Linked DNA regions of Homo sapiens: region 2 is linked to region 1. Evidence: promoter capture Hi-C in 16 types of primary human blood cells and fetal thymus (Javierre and others, 2016). All regions are on one chromosome and are shown on one strand. The core of a region is centred on a gene start or on the middle of the fragment in contact, and the rest is flanking DNA. Distances in the headings are between cores, read along the strand shown.

Region 1 (6,415 bases), core at 1,509-4,008:
TCTCTGGGCTCCATATAGATGCCCACCTGCAGTTCATCCTCTTCCTTCAACCCTGAGAACCAAGACGATGCTTCAAAACTGAAGCTTTCAGAGATTCTGAAGCAATCCCATGTGGTGGTGGTGGGGCAGGGGGTGATGTGACAGGCTCTGAGCAGGTGGCTGGCCCTACATCATTTCAGCTGTCATCTCTCCTCTGTGGAGCTGTCCCAAATTCTCTTGGGCAGAGTTAAGGGCTTCTTCCTCTGCTCAGCCCATATTGCCTTGGTAGGTGACTGCCTCTGCATATCTTTCTCCACCTGAACAGTGAACTACATGAGAATAGGAACTGAGACTTAAAATCATCTATCCAATGCAAGGATCCAGTATAGTCCTTGTCACATAGCAGGTGTTCAATAAATGTTTGTTGAATGCATGAATGATGGTAATTATATTTACTATCTATTGAGTTCTCCATTATGAGCCAAGTCCTATGCCAGGCCCTTAGCATACATTACCCTAATATGTACAACAACCATACAAGATTGATTTTAGCAACTTTGTTCTACAGATGGCCTCAGAAAGCTTAGTTCGCTTGCCCAAGTTCACAGAGCAATCTAAGGAGGTGCTGGGAATCAAGGCTCACTTAAGAAGCTCCAAGGTCCCACTCAGCCTATCACATCAGTGCTTCTAATCTTGACACTGTTGGCTCCCTTATCTTCTAGAATCCAATAGTCACAAGGCTCCATGACCCTGTCTCCTACCTATCTCTCAAATCAGTTCCCTCCTCTCCTCCCTGCTGCCGCTGTGTGGTCTAAGCTCATTCTCATTTTCCACTAGGATCAGCCTCCACGTTGGGGGTCTTCAGGACCCAGCACCTGCCTGCCTCTACAGTGTCACCTCCACCCCAGACTTTAAGTTCTGACCTCATGGAACTGTGGGTCCATATTCTGTCACCCCTGCACTCTGCACAAGGGATTACCCCTCCTGGAAAAAACAGGGAAAATCCTTCCTCCTCTCTCTTGTCCCCTCATCCTGTAACCCTCACCTCAAGCAGAATAGCTCCTCCCAGGCATCCGTAACACTAAGCCTCCTCCTATAGCATCCTAACTGTTTGCTTCCCTGCCGCATTACACCAAGAGCTTCTTGAAGGCAGGGACTGGGTTATACTCATCTTATGTGCCCAGAGCCCTGGCTATCATTTGGCACATAAGAGATGTTGAGAAAGTGTTTGTGGAGACCTCTTGACTTCACCCCCCTAGTTCCTTGAAATTCTACCCTTTGGCCCCACTCTCTCTAATCCGCCAGTAAACAGTTCCTTGGCCATAGTCCTTCTCCCTTTCCCTCCCTGCCCCTTCCAAACCTCTTTATGGCCTCCTGCTCCCCAGGCTTCTCACCATCCACTGGACTACAGAGCCAGGAGGTTGCTGCACACCTAAAGGCTCTGGATCCATGCACCCCGACAACACTTGGCAGTTTCATTTTTAGGAAGTGCTGTGCCCAGGAAATCTGCATGCCTTGGCAGAGAAAGCGAGGTAAAAAAAAAAAAAAGAGTTGGGAGGCCCTCTGTGAGATGTCAACTACCCACAGGTCACTTTCATGCATGGGCCCAGTGTCTTCCTTCATTCTCCTGTCTCCAGCTGACAGTGGGACCTCAGGCCCATGTCTTCCAGAAGGAAACTGTTCTATTCTCAACAACTCACAGTCCCCAGGGAAAGGGTTCAGGTAGAAGCACATGTACACTGTGGAGCACCCCCTCCTAAGGAGACTTTCCCTGTGGGAGACCCCAGACTGCAGCAGCCAAGCCCTCTGGTAGGGCAGGGGACACAGACTGCCTTGATGAGGTGCCATAGAGCCAAGGCACACCTCCTCTCCTCACAGCCCTCAGGAGGAAGCAGAGATGAGAGGGGCCTGGCGGTGGGGCACTGTGCCCTTCACCCCCATCCCCAGATTTTTGTTTTGTTTTTTTTTTTGATCCTTGAAGTCAGATGATGTGGGTGCAATGGCCATTGGCCTGAGTTCTAATCATGGCTCGCCATGAACTCTTGTGGCACTTTAGGCCAGTTCAATTGCTTTGCTGGGCCTCAGTTTCCCCTTCTGTAAAATGAGAGTGCCACTAGCTGAACTAGCCATTCTGTAACCCTTCTTGGATGATTCTCAAATATCCTGTGGAGTTTAATTCCAAAAGGACAAGTTGAATTATCCTTCGGGGAGGGAAATGTGAATGATGGCTGGTAACAAGGGCTTCATTCAGGTCCTGGAGAGGTGGGAACTTTGTCCGGAAAGGTAAGTGACAAGTCCCACTGGATAGGGTAGAAGGGGAGCCCGAGGGCTACTATTGTCAAGAAAATGACCACCAAAATCTGTCCATGCACATTCGTTCCTAGGGCGCCAGGTACAGGGAGGTACCTAGGAGAGGTAGGAGCACCGCTTTTAGAGACAGGCAGGCACTCTCAGTGTACCCCTGGCGCCTTGGTGTCCTGGGGTGATCCAGTCCAGAAGGCCTCATCCCCTAGCCAAGGCTCTCAGGGCCGGTTTTAGAAACGAAACAGGAAGAGGCACTTGGACCCTGGTTCCCAGAGTGGGAGAAAGGGGTGGGCACCCGGGCAGAGGGAGCCCTGGGGATTGGTAGCGGCTGTGGGCAGGGCGGGAGGGCCGGGGGCGGAGTCAACTTGTACATGTGAAAAACTCTGGCGGGGGCCGGGCATTTTCCTTCCTCCTCCTCCTCCTCCTCCTCCTCCCTCCTCTTCCCCACCTTCCTCCACTCCCTCCCTTCCCCTCCCCTTCTACCTCCTCCTCGGCCAGCTCAGGTTGCAGCTTCTCTGGGGAACTGCTCACCTTTCCGGAGCAGGGGAAGCTGCCCCGTGCCCGGGAGGGAGCGGGCGCACCGCGGCCCCCAGGACACGCGCTGTGAGTCCCGCGGGCGGTGCGCCTGGGAGGAAGGGGGAGGTCGGAGGAGCGGGCACCGCGGCGCCGGGTATAAGGAGCAAAGGTAAGCGGAACGGCTCTTAAAGGCGCAGTTTTGCTTTTGCCCTGAGGCGAGAGGTTGGAGGGAAATACCGGAGCGGCGAGGGGAGAGCAGAGATCACGAGGCGTGATCTGTGTGATACTGTGTTGTGTGTTGAGGGGTGGGGGGTGCCCTCGAAAGGCCACTCGTAAGTTCCAGGTGCTTGAGAGGGAGGGTTATTTTGCAATCTCAGACCCCGCGCCCCCTTAGGGAGTCTCCATCTGGGATCACTTTGGCCCCTGGGCTCCCGTCTGAACCCTACAAAGCAAAGTTTTCCACCCAGTCCGGAACCAGGCGCTTTCTAAGCTCCCTTCATTCTGGGAAGGGCAAGGGTCAGGAGTCTCCAGGGACCAAAGGACCCGAGAGTGTGGGGCCACATCGCTGCCTTGAAGGGCTTCCTGGGCTCTGGTGAACTTTCCAGAGCGGCAGGCAGGGGGTGGGAGGCCGGAGCCCTGGGAAGAACGTGGAAGGACACGTGAAGCCCTGCAGGTCCCAGTTCTGGGGGAGGCAGGGGTCTGGGGAATGCTGCTGCTTCTCTCTTTCCACCCCGGAAGACCAAAGGGGCAGTGCCCCCCTCCACCCCTCATCAACAGGCGACAGAGGGTTAATGCAGCAGAGGGAAAGGAGGCTGGGTGGGGCCGGGGGGAGTGGGCGGTGACCTGTTGGGCTAAGGAGATGTGCCTTGAGGATTCTGCTGTAGTTGAGGGACACCATCAGGAATCTGAAATCCAAAATCGGGTCTGGACTGGAGGCCTCTGTTTTCGCCCTGTGGGGGGCGGGGATTCCCTGAAGGTGTCTGCAGACCTTGTGCTGGGTGGGAGTTGGGCTGCAGAAACAGTGAGGGGTTTTCTGTGCTGCAGGGTCAGCACCCTCCTAGGCACCAGCCCTGCCTCTCTTCATTCTCTCTGGGCACCTCCCGGCAGTCGGGGTGGGAGGATTGACACTGTGGGAGTGAGAGGCCCTGGAACCTCTTCCGCGCTATCTGCTACTGTCTCCCCTTCTTCCCCACCCCTAGCCCAGCCCTCGGCAGTTCCCCAGCTGTAGCCTGGGCCCTGTGACTCACTAACACCACCGGCTTGCCCCTCCTGTGTCAGCACCCAGTGAGCTTCGGCATGTTCGCGTGGCATTCCCCACCCGGGCATGGGCATGCAGCACATTCCTGGACACGGGCCTGAGAGGATGCCTGGAGCGCCTGGTGGACTGGCACGTCCTCAGAGATCCCCTGCCTTTAGCCTGGCCTTGGGAGGGGCCTGGGAAAACGGTGCTGAGGGTGCTGAGGGTCGGTGGAGTACAGGGCGACACTGGCTCCAGGTCCGGGTTTGCATCCTGAAGGCGTTCCAGAGAGAGGGTCACCTTGCCACAGCAAAGCTGCTATCTCGGGTTACCCTTTCCCAGCCACCTCTTGTGCAGCTGAGGAGGCTGTGGGGCTGACCCCTCCCCCACCCTTAATCTGGGGTGTACCTGACCATTGGGTTCCCAGGACTCTCCCCACTGGGTCCCCAGGACTCTCCCCATACCCTGCCAGGAGAATGGAAGAAGCTCTCCACGCGTGCCAGAAGAAGTTCTTCCCAAACTTATCGGGGGTGCCAGAGGCAGAGTAGACAAGCCTTAGTGGCCACCATTTGTTGAATATCTACTGTGCGCCAAGCAGTGCGTCACAACTTTATGAAGTAGGTATTATTATCATCCCCATTTTACAGGTGAAGAAACTGAGTCTCTGAGAGACCAACTTTTCCAAGGTCACACAGAGGTGGGATCCAGCCCACTTCCGTCTGACCCCAAGCCCCTGCTGTTAACCCCTGCCCCATTGTGGGGAGGTTCCGGCCCACTCTGGAGTTCTCTGGTCTGCGTCAGTCCTCAGGAGAAGAAAGAATGGGGGTGATGCTCCAAATATTGAGGCTCCCATCTGTCTGTCCTGCACTAGGCAGAGCCAGGCTTCTCCATGGGGCACAGGAGAGAGGGCACCAGATCTGAGGAGCAAATAGGTTCTTGGTCTGAGATCTCGTGGGATCAGGTTGCCAGCCCTGCAAACCCCCGCTCAGGTCTAGAGGACATGGAGCTGCCTTTCAGGGTGCATTTGCTTCCTCTACAGACTCGGACTCTGTCCTCTGCCTACTTGGGCCGTCCCGCACTCGGGAATGCGTCCTACACTGTAGGGCAGAGCCCGGCTTGACTCTTCCCGGTTCCTACCCTAACCAAGCCTCTACTTTCTGGGATCACCCTGTTGGGACTTTTGTCCAGCATCTCCATCTACCTGTCCTCTGATTCCTTCTGTTCTTCTCTAACTGAGCTTGAGAACTAAAGGGGAGGGCAAACTTCTGGCCTTGGTGGAATCCAGCTCCAGCATATAGTAGCTATGTGACCTTCCCCTCACTAGCACACTCGTGAATTTCTCCCAGCATCCGTTCCCTCATCTGTAAAATGAGGATCATAATAGAGGGCTGTTATAAGATTTAGGCTGGGTGCGGTGGCTCACGCCTGTAATCCCAGCACTTTGGGAGGCCGAGGTGGACGGATCACGAGGTCAGGAGATCGAGACCATCCTGGCTAACATGGTGAAACCCCATCTCTACTGAAAAAAAAAAAAAAGCACAAAATTAGTCAGGCGTGGTGGCAGGTGCCTGTAGCTACTCGGGAGGCTGAGGCAGGAGAATGGCGTGAACCCGGGAGGCGGAGGTTGTAGTGAGCCGAGATTGCACCGCTGTACTCCAGCCTGGGCGACAGAGCGAGACTCCGTCTCAAAAAAAAAAAAAAAAAAAAAAAAAAAAAATAATGCACAGTGCCTGGCATGTAGCAGAGACTAAATAACTGGTAGCTATAGTGGTTGGTGGTGCTTGTTTGGAAAGGGAATTTCCTGGTGATTGCACCAGGGCTGGTCTAGAGACCAAGGTAGATTTTCCCAGCCCCATCAGGCCAAGCCCTTAGTTAGACAGAATCTTTACTGCTCTTCCAGGTTAGGGAGGAGGGCTCTGTGTAAGAGAATGGTGGTGGTGGTAGGGGAATGGGTTGGATGGAAATCTTCCAGGAGGGGCCAGGAATCTGTGCTGTGGGGGCCCTACCTTCTGGCAGTTATGAATGAGGCAGGCACTGGGAGCTGGAGAGGCAGCAGTCTCTTGCTCTGAGGGCCCTCTGGCAGCGCCTTCTTTCCCTGAGGTAGGAGGACCCTCCCCTGGTACTTAATTAATTGCAGTCCCTGTTCTGCTCTGTTGTTCAGGGTGAGTGGCTGGCCTGGTTCCAGGCCCACCTGATTAGCCCACCTTTGGCAATAAGTCACATTTCTCTTCCTCGGCTCTGTGTCCCACCATAACCCCTTACGTCCCCTTCCCTGGACTTTTCACCTTTGCCCTCCAGGCATTCCCTGCTGAGTGGGCACTTTCCCACATCCAGGGGGTGGGAGCAGACCAAGGTTAATCTTGTCCTGGCTCCCACAGC
Region 2 (5,866 bases), core at 3,256-5,755, 120 kb before region 1:
CCCAGGGTGGTTCACAAAACTAAGGGAAACACTTCCCTTACATGTATTGGTTTAATAATAAAGGGTGCAGATGAGCATTCAGATGGAAGAGATGCACAGGGTGAAGCATGTGGGAAGGGGCACGGAGCTCCGCGCTGTTTCTAGCACTCCACCCTCCAGGCATCTCCACAGGTTCAGCTACCCAGAACCTGCTTCTGAACCCACTCCTTCTGGGTTTTTATAGCGGCTTCATTATGGAGGCAAGATTGATTAAATCACTGGCCATTGATGATTGACTTAACCTTCAGTTCATCTCCCTTTCCTGGAGTTTGGGGGGATGGGACTGAAAGTTCTAACCCTAGAATCCTGCCTTGATCTTTCTGGTGACCTGTCCCCATCCTGAAGCTATCTAGTGGCCGCCAGCCACCAGTCATGTCAAATAGCATAAAAAAGACACTTACCATTCAGGAGATTCCAACAGTTTTAGGAACTGTGTGCCAGGAACCGGGGCAGAGACAAAATATAAATTTTTTATTATATCACTATATCACAGCATCTGATAGGGATGGGCCACCACAATGCTTCCCAAACTTTAATTTGGGTAGGAATCACCTGGGATCCTGTTGAAATGCAGATTCTGGCTCAGTAGTTGGGACGGAGCCTGAGATGCTGATACTGCTGGTTGGGAACTCACACCTTGAATGGTCAGACACAAAAGTAATTGTCTGTGCAGTCTCTTTAAACTGATTCCAGAATTCTAACATAAAAGAACTGGGAAAAGTTGAAAATAATGGAGGAAACTTTCTAGAAGTTTTATTTTTTATCATGTTTGGTTTTATTAAGAACGGAAGTATTGGTGGAGCGCAGTGGCTCACGCCTGTAAACCCAGCACTTTGGGAGGATCACATGAGCCCAGGAGTTCGGAACCAGCCTGGGCAACACGGTGAAACCCCATCTCTATAAAAAATACAAAAAAAATTAGCCAGATATGGTGGCACATGCCTGTAGTCCCAGCTACTCGGGAGGCTGAGGTGGGAGGTTCACTTGAGCCCGGGAGGTGGAGGTTGCGGTGATCCACCACACTCCAGCCTGGGTAATAGAGTGAGACCCTGTCTCAAAACAAACAAACCAAACAACACAACAGAAGTTTTCTTTTTTAAGTGCATGTGGCCACCACTGTAGGTTGGCTCTGCTTACTCCTATGACCAATCCTCTTCTCCCTCTTCTAACACAGAGGCTGCCAAGGCTCCAGCGCCCACTTTCTCAGCCTCCCTTGCTGCTCAGGATGAAATATGTAGAGCTGGAGAAGAGACATGGTTAGTCCTTACGTCCTGCCTTAAATGATGATGTGATGGCCATTATCTGGATCCTTCATGGAATTTCGGCAGTTCCAACGTGTCAGGCCAGTGTCTGGGATTCTCTCAGCCTTTCGCTTTTTCCCCTGGGAGTCGGACAGCTGCTGCAGCTCAGTCAGACCAAACCTCTCTGAATACCACCAAGAATCGGGTCAGTTTCGCATCTCCTTGATCATAATTTTTTCTGCAGCTGGTTTGTTTGAATCAGAATTATATTACATTTTTGGTCATTTTAAACAATATTGGACATCTTAAACTCTAGACTTTTTTTTGTTTTTGAGACGGAGTTTCAAAAAACTCAGGCTGTAGTGCAATGGCATGATCTTGGCTCACCGCAACCTCCACCTCTCGGGTTCAAGTGATTCTCCTGCCTCAGCCTCCCGAGTAGCTGGGATTACAGGCATGTGCCACCACGCCTGGCTAATTTTGTATTTTTAGTAGAGACACGGTTTGTCCATGTTGGTCAGGCTGGTCTTGAACTTCCAACCTCAGGTGATCCTCCCACCTAGGCCTCCCAAAGTGCTGGAATTACAGGGTTGAGCCACAGCGCCTGGCCCTAGACTTCTTTTTATGAGATAAAAATAAATCTCTGTTTAAGCCAGTCTTACTAGAGTTTTATGATCCTTGCATTCAAACTGTAATACAGTATGCAGTTTTTCAAAAATTTCTTCTTCTTTTTTTGTTTTATAGGCAGGATCTTGCTATGTTGTCCAGGCTGGTCTCAAACCCCTGGCCTCAAGCGATCCTCCCACCTCAGCCTCCCAAAGTGCTGGGATTACAAGCATGAGCCACCACATCCAGACAGAATGCAATTTTTAAAAATTAATATTTATATTCTCTCATTAGCAAACTGATACACACTACTTACAGAAATCTTTAAAAATATTTAAAAAGTAGAAATAGGGGGAAAAATTAGAGCTCCAGTCACCGAAGTACTCTTAACATTTTGACATATTTTCTTCCAGTGTTGTGCAGTTGTGATAATATGGTACAACAAATTTGTGTCCTTTTTTGTTTACCATTAAAATGAGCACCTTAAGAATTTCTTTTTGGAATGATGAAAATATTCTAAAATTTATTGCGGGAATGATTGCATAACCCTATGAATATACTAAAAATCATTGAACTGTAACCCTCAGTAGGTGAATTATATGGCATATAAATTATTTATCTCTCTCTCTACATATATATATTTTAAGAGATAGGGCCCAGGCTGGAGTGAAGTAGTGTGATCACAACTCACTGCAGCCTTGAACTCCTGGACTCAAGCAATTCCCCTATCTCAGCCTTCCACAATAAAGCTATTTTTTAAAAAAATTTTTAAATAAGCATTTTCAGGCTGGGCATGGTGGCTCATGCCTGTAATCCCAGCACTTTGGGAGGCCGAGGCAGGTGGATCATGAGCCCGGGCTGTTGCCCAGGCTGAAGTGCAGTGGCACGATCTCTGCTTACTGCAACCTCTGCCTCCTGGGTTCAAGTGATTCTCCTGACTCAGCCTCCCGAGTAGCTGGGACTACAGGCATGCGCCACCACACCCGGCTAATTTTTTGTATTTTTAGTAGAGACAAGGTTTCGCCATGTTGGCCAGGCTGGTCTTGAACTCCCGACCTCAAGTGATCCACCCACTTCGGCCTCCCAAAGTGCTGGGATTACAGGCGTGAGCCACCATGCCCAGCCTTTGGTGCTTTTTTGTACCTAGAATTAGCTCCTCCCATATTGTGCCAAAGTGTAACATTGCTTAAGCATTTATTGAGTGCTTGCTACAAGTCAGGTGTGGACCACACTAAGTCCACTACTCACATTATTTCCTCAAATTCTTCATCACCCTAAGAGGCCTATTCTACCCCTATTTTTGAAAGCTGAAATTGAAACTCCAGGAGGACAACTAACTCACCCAAGGTCACAGGGCCGATAAAGAGAGGAGCCGGGTGCCTACACAGCTCTGCCTGGTCCCTGAGGCCATGGTTATTACATTCCTTTGTCAGATGGTAATTTTTTAGAACCTTGCTAAGTTTCAAAGGCAAAAATGCTATCCTGTTCTAAATTGTTTTCATGGTGTTGGACATTTCTTTGTGTTTACTAAACTAGACACATTCTTCTGCTGTAAATTAGCTGTTTCCCAGAATTGGCTATACAATTGGAGGAGTGAATAAAATGCGACCTATGGCTTGTCACCATACTTAGAAAGAAAAACGCCAGACAGTTTCCTTGTTTGACGCCTGCTCAAATATGGAAGCACCTTTAATGAGAGTTGACATGACTTGGGGGATTTCCTAACCATCATGCTCTTAACACAGGTGCCTGGTTAGGCAGGTTCCTTCCACCTGGCTGAGCCCAGACACCGATCTGTGAGAGCAGCACAGTGCAAGGGAAGGCTCCCTGCAAGGGAGGGCTGCAGGCTAGGCTGGCCCTTCAGGGTAGTGTTTTGGTTCTTTCCTGAAGCAGGAGGCCTCGCTTGGAGCATTGCTTTGCTCCTAAATTACTTAACCAAACAGCGACTTATTTTCCACAGTCAGGTAGACAAACACCACAATGATGAAAATACCAAGCACAGCAAGCTTCAAGCCCACTGGGAAACCTTCTTCTCTCCAGCTCTCGATAGTCTGGTCTTCCGCGCAGTAGTCTCTCTCTTTGGTGATAGTCCCATATGTGATTCTGGTGCTTGGTGCTCTTGCAGCCCACCTGTGAAAACATCAGTGGCTCTTAGGATTGTGGACAGCTGTGGTGCACTTGAGTAGCCCCTTAAAGTGTGTGGGTCTTGAAGCCCAAGGGTGCAGTCATGGTGGGGCTTTAGAGGTAGCCTCTCCTTACTAAAAACCTAGGCTAATTTCTTTTTTTTTCTTTTAAGACAGGATCTTGTTCTGTTGTCCAGGCTGGAGTGCAGTGGTACAATCACAGCTCACTGCAGCCTTAACCTCCTGGGCTCAAGACATCCTCCCACGTCTGCCTCTCGAGTAGCTCGGACCACAGGTACATGCCACCACCCCCAGCTAATTAAAAAAAAAAATTTCGTAGGCCAGGTGTGGTGGTTCACACCTGTAATTCCAGCACTTTGGGAGGCCAAGGCAGGCAGACTGCTTGAGCCCAGGAGTTCGAAACCCTGTCTCTACAAAAAATATAAAAATTAGCTGGGCATGGAGGCTGAGATGGGAGAATCAGTTGAGCCGAGGAGTTTGAGGCTGCAGTGTACTATGATTGTGCCACTGCACTCCAGCCTGGGTGGCAGAATGAGACCCTGTCTCCAAAAAAATTAAAAAATAAATTTTTTTGTAGAGACGAGGGCTCACCATGTTGCCCAGGCTGGTCTCAAACTCCTGGGCTCAAGGGATCCTCCCACCTCAGCCTCCCAAAGTGCTGGGATTACAGGCGTGAGCCACTGTGCCCAGTCTCTAATTTCAACAAGTGATACTAACAGCGTATTGGGGGATATGAGGTCTCTCAAATCCCACAAAACATTTCTTCATTGTTTCCACCCACTTGTGTATCACTTCTCAATGCCGGCATAAAGCCTGACTTGGCACAGGCCTTGCAGATCCCCAAGTCCTCGCTGGGAAATTGTATAAGTGGATGGGAAGCCTCAGTACTCAGGCCCCCTCCTTCCTCCCTTCTCAAGTACAAACACCACCTTTCAGGGTGGAGAGGAAAAGCGCCTTTGCAATCTGCTTATTTTGCACTTAAAAAGGCAAGAGTACTTTCTGAAATTTTTTTGCAAGAGCCTTATGTTTCCACTAGCCTAATTCTGCAAAACCTGCTGAAGTTTATTCAGAAGTTAGGAAACTCTCCAGAAAGCTTTACTTTCTGACTAATACAATTGCCTGTCTTGAGCTTTTATTTGAACTACTTACTCTTTTTATTCGTTTTTAAAAATTGATACATAATAGATTTACATATTTGAGGGTATATGTAATTTTATATTACATACATATTTTTTTGAGACAGGGTCTCACTCTGTTGCCCAGGCTGGAATGCAGTGGCGTGATCATAGCTCACTGCATTGCAGCCTTGAACTCCTGGGCTCAACTAATCCTTCTGCGTCAGCCTCCCAGGTAACTGGGACTGTAGGCACATACCACCATGCCTGGCTAATTTTTAAATTTTTCTGTAGAGACAGGATCTCACTATTTTGCTTAAGCTGATCTCAAACTCCTGGCCTCAAGTGATCCTCCTACCTCAGCCTCCCAAAATGCTGGGATTACAGGCATGAGCCACTGTGCCCAGCCAACATGTGCTATTCTGATACCTTCATATAATGTGTAAAGATCAAATCAGGGTAATTAGGATATCCACCACCTTAAATATTTATCTTCTCTTTATGCTAGGAATGTTTAAATTATTCTCTTCTAGCTATTTTGAAGTGTTCAATAGGTTATTGTTAACTAAAGCCACTCTTCTGACCTATTGAACCCTAGGTCTTATTTATCCTATTTAACTGTGTATTTATATCCTTTTTTTTTTTTCTTTTTTCTTTTTTTTTTTTGAGGCAGAGTCTCGCTCTGTCACCCAGGCTGGAGTGCAGTGGCATGATCTCGGCT

What was found. The method cuts DNA at HindIII sites, captures the fragments that hold promoters and counts their contacts. A CHiCAGO score of 5 or more calls a contact.
Region 2: a fragment that was not itself captured here is called in contact with the fragment with the promoter of CDK18 in region 1 in 1 of 17 cell types (endothelial precursors); the score reaches 5.6 in endothelial precursors.

What each region holds. Positions count from the first base shown.
Region 1 is chr1:205,501,911-205,508,325 of GRCh38, forward strand. CDK18 (cyclin dependent kinase 18) reads left to right here and starts at 2,759. Exons shown (of 16, transcript NM_212502.3): 1 at 2,759-2,886. RefSeq lists an enhancer at 4,683-5,336. The HindIII fragment of the contact is 14,965 bases long and covers 560-6,415 here.
Region 2 is chr1:205,377,841-205,383,706 of GRCh38, forward strand. It overlaps LEMD1 (LEM domain containing 1), which reads right to left. Exons shown (of 6, transcript NM_001199050.2): 6 at 3,538-4,016. The coding sequence ends at 3,818. It overlaps LEMD1-AS1 (LEMD1 antisense RNA 1), which reads left to right. Exons shown (of 4, transcript NR_038425.1): 2 at 1,214-1,485; 3 at 4,187-4,304. LOC105371698 (a long non-coding RNA gene) reads right to left here and starts at 810. Exons shown (of 3, transcript XR_922462.2): 1 at 592-810; 2 at 441-469. The HindIII fragment of the contact is 1,231 bases long and covers 3,891-5,121 here.